2 separate regions of the Homo sapiens genome follow, and region 1 is linked to region 2. The links are contacts of gene promoters, found by promoter capture Hi-C in blood cells and fetal thymus (Javierre and others, 2016). All regions are on one chromosome and are shown on one strand. Each heading gives the region's core, a stretch centred on a gene start or on the middle of the fragment in contact. The rest is flanking DNA. Distances are from core to core; before and after follow the strand shown. Region 1 overlaps ANO10 (anoctamin 10). Region 2 holds the start of ABHD5 (abhydrolase domain containing 5, lysophosphatidic acid acyltransferase).

Region 1 (4,609 bases), core at 1,955-4,454, 150 kb before region 2:
AAAGCCCTCTTCTTTTGTTCCTTTCAGCAATATGCCTAAAAATTCAATTATAAAATCTTATTTGGTGTTTGAAAGGAGCCATTTACTATATAAAATCAAATTTTAGATTAACTGGTTTTCGGTTGCCTTGTTCTTAATTTTGAAAAAGAAAAAAAATCTACTTTTTTCATCTTGTAAACATGTCCTAAGCCACAAAAGATTTTCTAAAGCATTTTTTCAACAAGTTTTTATACATTTTAAAATTTACCTTTTAACTTAAATAGAAAATCACTCATCTTGGTGTATAGCACTTTCAGTTTTAATAAATGCACCCAGCTGTGAAACCATCACCATAATCAAGATACAGAACAATTTCATCACTCAAAAAAAAAAAAAAAAAAAAAGCCCTCACCTTTCACCTTACTCTGAGTCCTTGGCAACCATCCTCGGTTAAGTTTTAATGTCCAAACGTAGACTAGATGTATATTACAGCAATCTCCGGGACAAATTTAATAGCAAAGAGAAGACAATGCCAAGAGCTCTACCTGTCATCTTGCTCATATGTCCTTCCTACACACTCAGTGGGTAAGAGGCTTATAGGCTGTGGAAGAATATCATTGGTCTATCAGAGAGCTCCTCTTTCCTTGGGTTTCCTTTTCCAGCATAAAAGAATATCAACAAACTGTATTCTTTCTACTCATATCCCACCTCCTTTTTGCTGTGAAATATTCCCTCAACCTGAGTTCCTTGTGCACCAGTGACCACATCACAGGCTTAATTATTAGCACAGATGGTGCCAATTAGTTCTGTGTGAAGTGCTGAAATGGAAAGGATAATAGAAGCATTACAAGCTTCCTAAAAATGGTCACAGCTGGGGCCCAATGATGACAGCTTGGGGGCAACCATATCTTTACATTCTGCAGCTCACCTTCCACCTCCTGCTCCATCCACCAGAGCAGAACCATGATCTCAGGCTCAGAGCAGGCATACTTTATAAACCACACACACACACACACACACACACACACACACACACACACGTAACTAATATACGTCAGATAGGAAGAAATTTTCTTAGAAAGTAACCAATATTCAAAAACCTTTCTTTTCTGTTCATTGTTCTTAATATCCTTAGAAATAGTCGATTTCAGTAACATAACATAATGGGACTGGGAACACATTTTATTAGTTAGGAGGAAATTATAGTAGTAGTATTAACATCTTACATCTGTAAGCACCCTGGAGTCCACAAACCACCGTCACATAGTTTCTAATTTAATCCAGTCTTAGCCACATGGCACCCTGGAGGACTACAAAAGAAACTAAAGACCCTCTGAAGCTTTTAAGCTACAGACTAAAAAGGGTGGGGGGACAGAAGTAACAAGACATAAGAACAAATACAACATATCAAAATAACTAGAAACATTAAGATCTGGTCAAATTTATACCATTTCACCAAACCCAAAATACATAAATGTCTATGATACTAAAAAATGATAGTTAGACCTGGCCCTATTTTTGATATAAAATTTCAGTATAAAAAAAACAGCTAAGTGTTTCTAAAAGTGAAATTTGACGTAGCATACTAACACAGCATTTTGAGTTTGGGGTATTGTTAATGTGGGAAACCATTCCTAAAGAAATGGGTTATTGAACAGGGTCTACACATTGACAAATATGAATTTAAGAACAGCATTTTAACTGAGGAAAAAAAATAAGAAAAGAGGTATCAAAAACTGTACTGAAATGATCTTGCTTGTGAGTCCAGCTCTTCCAAAAGAAGGGTGAATTTATTTTCTTTGTATCTCCAGCACTGACTAGAAATTCAGAAAAAATTTTTAAAACGGAAATAAAACAAGTTATGTGAAAATACAGAAGGATACCTTAAAGAACAGGTTTTTTTAACAACAATTACTATGGCAGCTTTGTAATTCTGGCAGAAGAAAAAAACTGTAACGATGGCAGGCATAAAGAACTGGGATCTAACCCACAGGACTGAAGAAACGGAAAAAATGAGGTGGATTTGAGAACAATCAAGAGGAGAAGCTGAGGCAGACTCCAGCTGGTCTTTTGGACTTGAGGGTGGTTGGACCAGAGACAGGAGAGGCTAGATGCAGAGGGGGATGCAGGATGGAGAACGGCCTGCTGTCTACACACACAGGGGCAGGTGCTTCATAGACAAGAACTGTTTCAGCTTCCTCAACCCAACGAAGAGGCTGCTCCTGGTAAGGAGAGGATTGGAAGTTCAATCTCACAATAAGAAGATACAGTAAATTCAATCCACAATCTATTCATTTTTAGAGATCACTGGAATGGCCAAGTAGAATTTATGTTAGTGAATGAAAATGAATACTGCAGTCATGACTTTGAAAGTGTTTTTTAAAATACCATTTTGGAATAAAATGTAAATGGGCTATAAAGTTTTCATCATGACCTTAGAGCCCTCCATCAGTTTCCCCATCCATTACCTCTTATCCCCCAATTCATACTCTCCACTCTCCCTAAGAAAACCTACAGTCTCTTATTTCACCCCTCCTGCTCCCTCCTGGTACTGGAGCTGCCCCCACATTCCACTTTTTCAACGGGTCCCCTGCCACACAGAGCCACCTCAAATGTATTCCCATTAGATTTGAGACTGCTCAACACACAACTCAATATTGCAAAGAACAGGGGTTTCTTATGTGTTGCAAGTCTATTTTCAACTTTCTAAAGCAACACTTGCTTTCCAACCTAGAAAAAAAAAATAAAACCAAACGTGCTTTTTTATCTCCCCATTAAAATAGATAGGAAGTCAGAGAAAGAGGGTCAGTTTGACTCTGGATCAGTTCAGGCATCTGAAAGGAAAGTTAACTGTCATGCAAGAATGAGGTTAGCAAGCAGGTCCCAGAGGAGGGTGACGCACCTAGCAGGTCTGTTGTTGAGAGCGGGAAGCACAGGCTGGGGTGCAGTAGGAGACAGCAGAGGGAGCAGGTAATTGACAGAAGGTCTTGAAAGCATGAAATGAGAAGAGACAAGAGCAACAGTCCTCAAAGATGAATAACCCAAATCAGTTTTTTGTTTGTGGATATCTGAAGTATTTACATTTGAATATGGATACATATGATGTTCTGTGATTTCACTTTAAACAAAATAATGATGCCAGACTTTGAAATTATGGCTTAAGAGTACAGAGAAGCTGTTGAATTTTCTAATGCTTACCTCCTTTCAGACAATTGTTTTCTGAAAACAACTCTATTCTGAGTGTAAAACGATCTCTTGCAGAGGGGTGAGACTTGCCTTCTCCTAAACTTTCTTAGGCAAGAAACAGGTTAGGTTACCCACTGTAAGACCTTAAAAAATTGCAATGTAATCTGCAAAAACTGGATGTTAACTAAGTCATATTTAAACAGATTATACATTAACCATCAATTCCAAGGGCATTGGGTTTTTCAACAAAACAAGTATTTCCCATTACTTGACAAACTTAAAATCCTAATTTAGCACTCCCAAGGAACAGAAGCCCATTTAGATGACACAATTGGGGCCAATAATTCCTTCGTTAATCAAAACAGCTAAAATGCAGAATCATACAAAATGCATATATTCATTTTGTTTTAGCAAACATTTAAATGTACACTAATTTGCAAATCTTTTGCTGTAGAGCTAGGGCCCTTCCTCTGAGTAGGATCCAGTGATGGACTGTCTCACTCTCTGCTGCGCCTAAATAACACCTATAAGACAATGTCTAAGATGCCCAGGTTTGTTTTCTTTAAAGGAGAGTGAAAACTTAAAGACACTTGTGAAGCAATGTAAAAACAGAATCTGGCTGTCCATATTCTGATGATTTTTCCCTAATCTTTTATAATTGTCTCATCTTTATTCAATCTGACAGCAATTTGTCTTTATGAAGTCTTTCCAAAGGTTTTCATAGAAATGATGGCTCTATTTTAGCACACACTTTTCATCATTCTCCATTCCATTTCATTAAATTATGCCAATTACAGTAACAAGAATACCACACATAAACAGATTTGGGAACAAAATGCCTCTTGGTGAGCCATAAACTCAGTGAGTGGACATCTTCCCCATCATCCTCACACCAATGCCCACTCAGCAGGCCAACAGAGCCTGCACTAGTCAGGGCACTGTTAGGAGGGAATGGAGAGAGCTGGGTTAACAGGGGAAGGAGGTGAAGAAAGAGGCCTCCTATTGCACTGAAATGTATCTCTTGCATAATTCTGTCTGTGAGCATTCCTGAAGCCAGGGATGTATCATAGTAATGCCTAGCATATTTTAGCACATAATAAATATGTATTCAATGTAAGCATTTGATTTGACTAATTATTCCCACAACATTAGGAGAACACAGAGCAATGTTTTATCCAGATAACAGCTAAAGAGCCCATGGAAAGACTAGTAAATTCCAAGATTATCACAGGAATAAAGGAAACAAGAGGAGGAAGAAAAAAAACCCAGTTCCATAATTCTATTCAAAAGCACCCTAATCCAAAAATAAAAAACCAACCCAACTCATGCTCAACAATGGGAAATGGTGACCAGATTAGTAACTTAGTTTGTTGTGGGCTCCTTTGTAGGCTAAGTTTTAAACTGAATTCTCAGAACTTAATCAAACCTTTCAATTAGGTGAAGA
Region 2 (4,731 bases), core at 1,512-4,011:
TTTGTGACTGTGCAGCAGGCACAGGCATCTTTGAGAGCAGACTCCAGGTCCATAAAGACCAAAGCGCTACAGGAGTTGCTGCAAAATCCTAAGGTTTCATTACTGGACTCAGTACCACTGGGCTTGCACTGTGTTCCAGGCGGTAGGGTCTTCAACAGACACTCTGAGAGGTGGGATTGTAGGGCATCAGTTTCTGCAGACACACTACAAGTGTCTGGCAACACTATTGTGGAGGCTAAAGTAACTCCATCTCAGATGCTAATCCACAATGTTGATTTCTGAGTAACCCCAGTTTTGGGAAGGCCTCCAAGTTTTCTACTTTATCTATTGTTCCTTGTATAAGAGCATGTGACAGGCTGTTCTTACATTGTTATAAAGAAATACAGCTGGGCGCGGTGGCTCATGCCTGTGATCCCAGCACTTTGGGAGGCAGTGGAGGGAGGATCATTTGAGGTCACGAGTTCAAGACCAGCCTGGCCAACATGGTGAAACCCCATCTCTACTAAAAATACAAAAAATTAGCTGGGCGTGGTGGCGGGTGCCTGGAATCCCAGCTACTCAGGAGGCTGAGGCAGGAGAATTGCTTGAACCTGGGAGGTGCAGGTCATAGAGAGCCAAGATCATGCCACTGCACTCCAGCCAGGGCAACAGAGTGAAACTCCGTCTTAGAAAAAAAAAAAAAAAGAATTACCTGGGACTGGGTAATTTATAAAGAAAGGTTAATTGGCTCATGGTTCTGCAGGCTATACAGGTGCTGGTATCAGCTTGGCTTCTGGAAAGGCCACAGGGAGCATTTACTCACGGCAGAGGGCAAAGCGGGAGCAGGCATCTTACATGACTAGAGCAGGAGCAAGAGAGTGAGGGGTAGGTGCCATACACTTTTAAACAACCAGATCTCACAAGAACTTACTATTGCAAGGACAGCATTAAGGGGATAGTGCCAAATCATTCATGAGAAATTCACCCCCAGAATCTAATCACCACCCATCAAACCCCACCTCTAACACTGGAGATCACAATTCAACATGAGATTTAGAGAGGACAACACCCAAATTGTATCAGAGCACATACTTACCTACCTGCCCTTAGGTCAAAACAACCTTAGTCTGGGAGGGTAACAGCACAGAGATTTACCTGTCTTGCTGCTGTCCAAGACCATGCTTCTGTCCGTAAGTTCCCTAATAAATCACCTTTTGCTGACAAGCTGGATTTGTCTCCTTCATTCTTTAGTTTCTCAGCTCCTTCTGTATTTGGAGGTCACTTTGAATATACGGCCCTTTCATGAAACAACCAGGAATTCCTGTAAAAATGTTTTTTATATGTTCTGGTCTTCCCTAAAATATTTTATGAATTAGATCAAACACAATAAAAAATGTATTAGTTATTACTATGCCTAAGAGATTATAAGTGGCTTTCCCCCCTCTAAATTACAGAAGACACCATTCCTATCCTAGAGGACTTTCTCGTGTAGTTGGAAAGATATTCGATAATGTTTATTTAAAAGCTGTAACAATTACACAAGGCTGAGAACCTGAGAGCTAGATGGGTGATAAAGACAGGTTTACAGTGGGGCTCAGAGGAGAGAAAAAGAGGGAGGAGAGTCAGGGAAGGAGAACAATGAACTGAGTCTAAAATAAAGGTTAATATATTCGCGTAGGATCTATCAAAACAGGAGCAGTATTTCAACCCATTGTTTTCAAGCACCTAGAACAAAGTGAGCCCATAGTAGACACACACCAAACATAAATGGATGAGTAGTAGTGGGTGGCAGAATTCCAAAAGCAGGTTGCACCTGATTGCTAAAAGGCTTGAAAACAGGTCAAGAAATACTGCTATTTAGGTTAGTCATTTCACCTCAATAACTCGAAGTACCTAAACATAGACTTTTTTTTTTTTTTTTGAGACGGAGTTTCGTTCTTGTTGCCCAGGCTGGAGTGCAATGGTGCGATCTCGGCTCACCGCAACCTCCGCCTCCCGAGTTCAAGCGATTCTCCTACCTCAGGCTCCCGAGTAGCTGGAATTACAGGTATGCGCCACCGCGCCCGGCTAATTTTGTATTTTTAATAGAGACGGGGTTTCTTCAGCTCAGGCTGGTCTCCAACTCCCGACCTCAGAAAATCCGCCCGCCTTGGCCGCCCAAAGTGCTGGGATTACAGGCCTGAGCCACCGCGCCCGGCCAACACCGACTCTTTTCACCCTCCCAGGTATCTAGAGAGTCGAGTGGGAGGGAAATTGCTGGCTCTGGCCACTACAGTAACATCAGCACCTAGAGCAGTGCTCAACTGACTGAAGGCTCCTGTGAGTCGCCCTCTCCCCCTGGCCCCCCAACCCGCGGGGAAAGGCTGGCGGGACGCCACACAGCACCTCGATTACGCCATTTCATTTGCCACTGCACCATCTATCGGACACTAGCTAGGCTCTTCCAGGACCGGACGCACCTCCGTCCCCAAGGTGCCACCTGACAGCCAACACCGACGGGGTGATGCATGAATACAGTCATTATTCAAATTAGCTAAAACACCTAACTCATTCGGGTGAGTCTCGCCAGTCCCTCTGGGCTGACTGTCCCGCCCCGCGCTTACACCCGGGAGCGTCGGGCGGGAGAACTAGTGCATGCTGGCTGGGGATGGCGGACGCAAAGCCGGAGGCAAGGCCGCGCACGCGCAAACGCGGGCGCGCCGCCGGGCCGTGCTAGTGCGCGGAAGACGCATGCGCTGGCGGCCTGCGCCGCCTTAAGTGCCGCGCCAGCCCGGGGCGGCCCAGTCGGCCTGTCAGCCGGCTTCGAGATAAGTCCCGGCGCTTGCGCGGCGGCGGCTATGGCGGCGGAGGAGGAGGAGGTGGACTCTGCCGACACCGGAGAGAGGTAAGCGCAGCCGGCAGGGGGCTTCGTGTGTCTCCGGCGCGCACCCTCCGCGCGGGCCGGGTTAGGGCCCAGCGGGCAGCACCAAGGAGTCGCCGCCCGCCTGGCGACGACGGGCGGCTTCCTCGACCCTCCCCGGCATGAGTCCGCGCGGCGCCCAGAGGCGTCCCGGCGCCGCTCTGCCTGGGAGAGGCTCCCCTCAGCGTCGGGGCCCCGAGGTGTCTGAGCCGGACTCCGGCCGCGCCGGGAGGCCGCCTTGACCCCGCGCGGAGGGTCCGCCCCGTTGTTGTATAAGCCACCCCGCGGGCCGGCGACGGAGCTGGCCGCGGCGGCCGCACCGGCTCGGGCTCTGCCAAGGGACCCGGCCTGCCCCAATGCCGCCGGCGGGCGGTGCCCGGTCGACCCTGCACCTGACTGCGAGGCGCGGGAAATGACCGGGTCTGTCAGCCTCCCATCGCGGCTTCCGTCTACAGGTACTACCTGTGCTCTGTCCAGCCTCAGCCACTGGACGATCCTTCCCGTAGCCGTAGGAAGGGGCGGCGCTTCCTTGGAGGGGATATTAGAGGCCCGAATTCGCCCGGGAAGCGGCGGGAGGGCGGGGGTGCCGGGAAGGAGGGAGGGGAGAAGGAGTGAGGGAAGTGGGTGTATGGCTGTGAGTTTCAGATACTTCATAGAAAGAAAGTTAGCCCTTAAGATAGAGATACACGTTCAAATGTCATAATTCATCTTTCGGATGAAGGTCTTTGGCTTGCAAGCTCCACTGTCCCTTATTTGTTTGCGCTTCTGGGATTATTCTGGCTTTACTGGCGAAGTGTGTGTTGCATGTGCCTTAGAAGAACACACATAATGTATAGGAAACTGTGGAAGTTGGAGGGCAGATGTCTAATGTGAAACTTTTTTATATACAGGTATAGTGAGTTTATTCTTTTCTACACCTAAATGACTTCTTGCACTTGTTAGTAGAAGAATAGTAGTTAATGAGTGGAATAATTAAATTGTTATGGAGGTTATTGCCTTGTTTCTCAAGGCCTGTCGTTTGTATTGGAAAGTAAACTTCCCCCATATATATTTAATTTTTTGACGTCGGTTCTACTTCAGACGTCTGGAGAAATTTGCCTAGGAAACATAACCTAAATGATAGAATATGGAGTACCATGAAGACAGGGATATTTGGAAAGATGTCATGGGGAAAAATTGTGAAATATTAGAAAGGAAGTTATTCTCTTGAGTTTTGTTTATTTGTTGAGGTTTGTTGATGAACTTCCTCGTTGCACTGAGGTGAAATGTTGAATGTCATGTGGACGCAAGTAGGAACGTAATTGGTAGGTTGTGTTCTCATCTTGTTTGTCACAACATTTTTGACTCTTGACACTACTTTCAGGTGGACTATTTGGTTTTGATGTAGTGGGGCCTTGGAGTCCAGGACACAATCGTGAAAGGGTTTTATGGCTTGGAGTGATGGTTGGAGGTCATTGGAGGTAGATGATTAAAAAATCCTTAGCAGCTGATCAGCCATAGTTTCTAGACAGAAGTGGGCTTCGCTGGTATTCTTGGCAATATGCTTTAGCAGTGTCCAGTGACTATCCCCAGAAGTGATCCTGTTAAATCCAAGGTTGCCCCTGTGTGCTGGGTATTATTGTTCCCATTTTGCAGTTGAAACTGCCACTGTAAAGGCTGCTAACAGCCTGCCAGCAAGTAGCAGGGCTGGATTGGAACCCTTTGTGGAACCCTTTGAGGTGTCTGGATTTAATCTAAGGTGCTTACCCTGTATCCCTGCTGCCTGTCACTGGAATTGGGACTCATGTGGGATGTTTGGCTCTTGTTTGAATACAGTTCCCTACCCTTAAGACATTTGAGGTTTAGATAGGGAG

What was found. The method cuts DNA at HindIII sites, captures the fragments that hold promoters and counts their contacts. A CHiCAGO score of 5 or more calls a contact.
Region 1: a fragment that was not itself captured here is called in contact with the fragment with the promoter of ABHD5 in region 2 in 1 of 17 cell types (erythroblasts); the score reaches 5.2 in erythroblasts.

What each region holds. Positions count from the first base shown.
Region 1 is chr3:43,536,634-43,541,242 of GRCh38, forward strand. All of the region lies in intron 11 of ANO10 (anoctamin 10), which reads right to left. Among named protein-coding and RNA genes, the nearest start is that of ANO10, 83 kb to the right of the region's middle. RefSeq lists an enhancer at 1-447. The HindIII fragment of the contact is 3,777 bases long and covers 1,317-4,609 here.
Region 2 is chr3:43,688,177-43,692,907 of GRCh38, forward strand. ABHD5 (abhydrolase domain containing 5, lysophosphatidic acid acyltransferase) reads left to right here and starts at 2,762. Exons shown (of 7, transcript NM_016006.6): 1 at 2,762-2,863. The coding sequence starts at 2,817. It also overlaps a transcript of ANO10 not described here. RefSeq lists a silencer at 2,934-3,413. The HindIII fragment of the contact is 11,295 bases long and covers 1-4,731 here.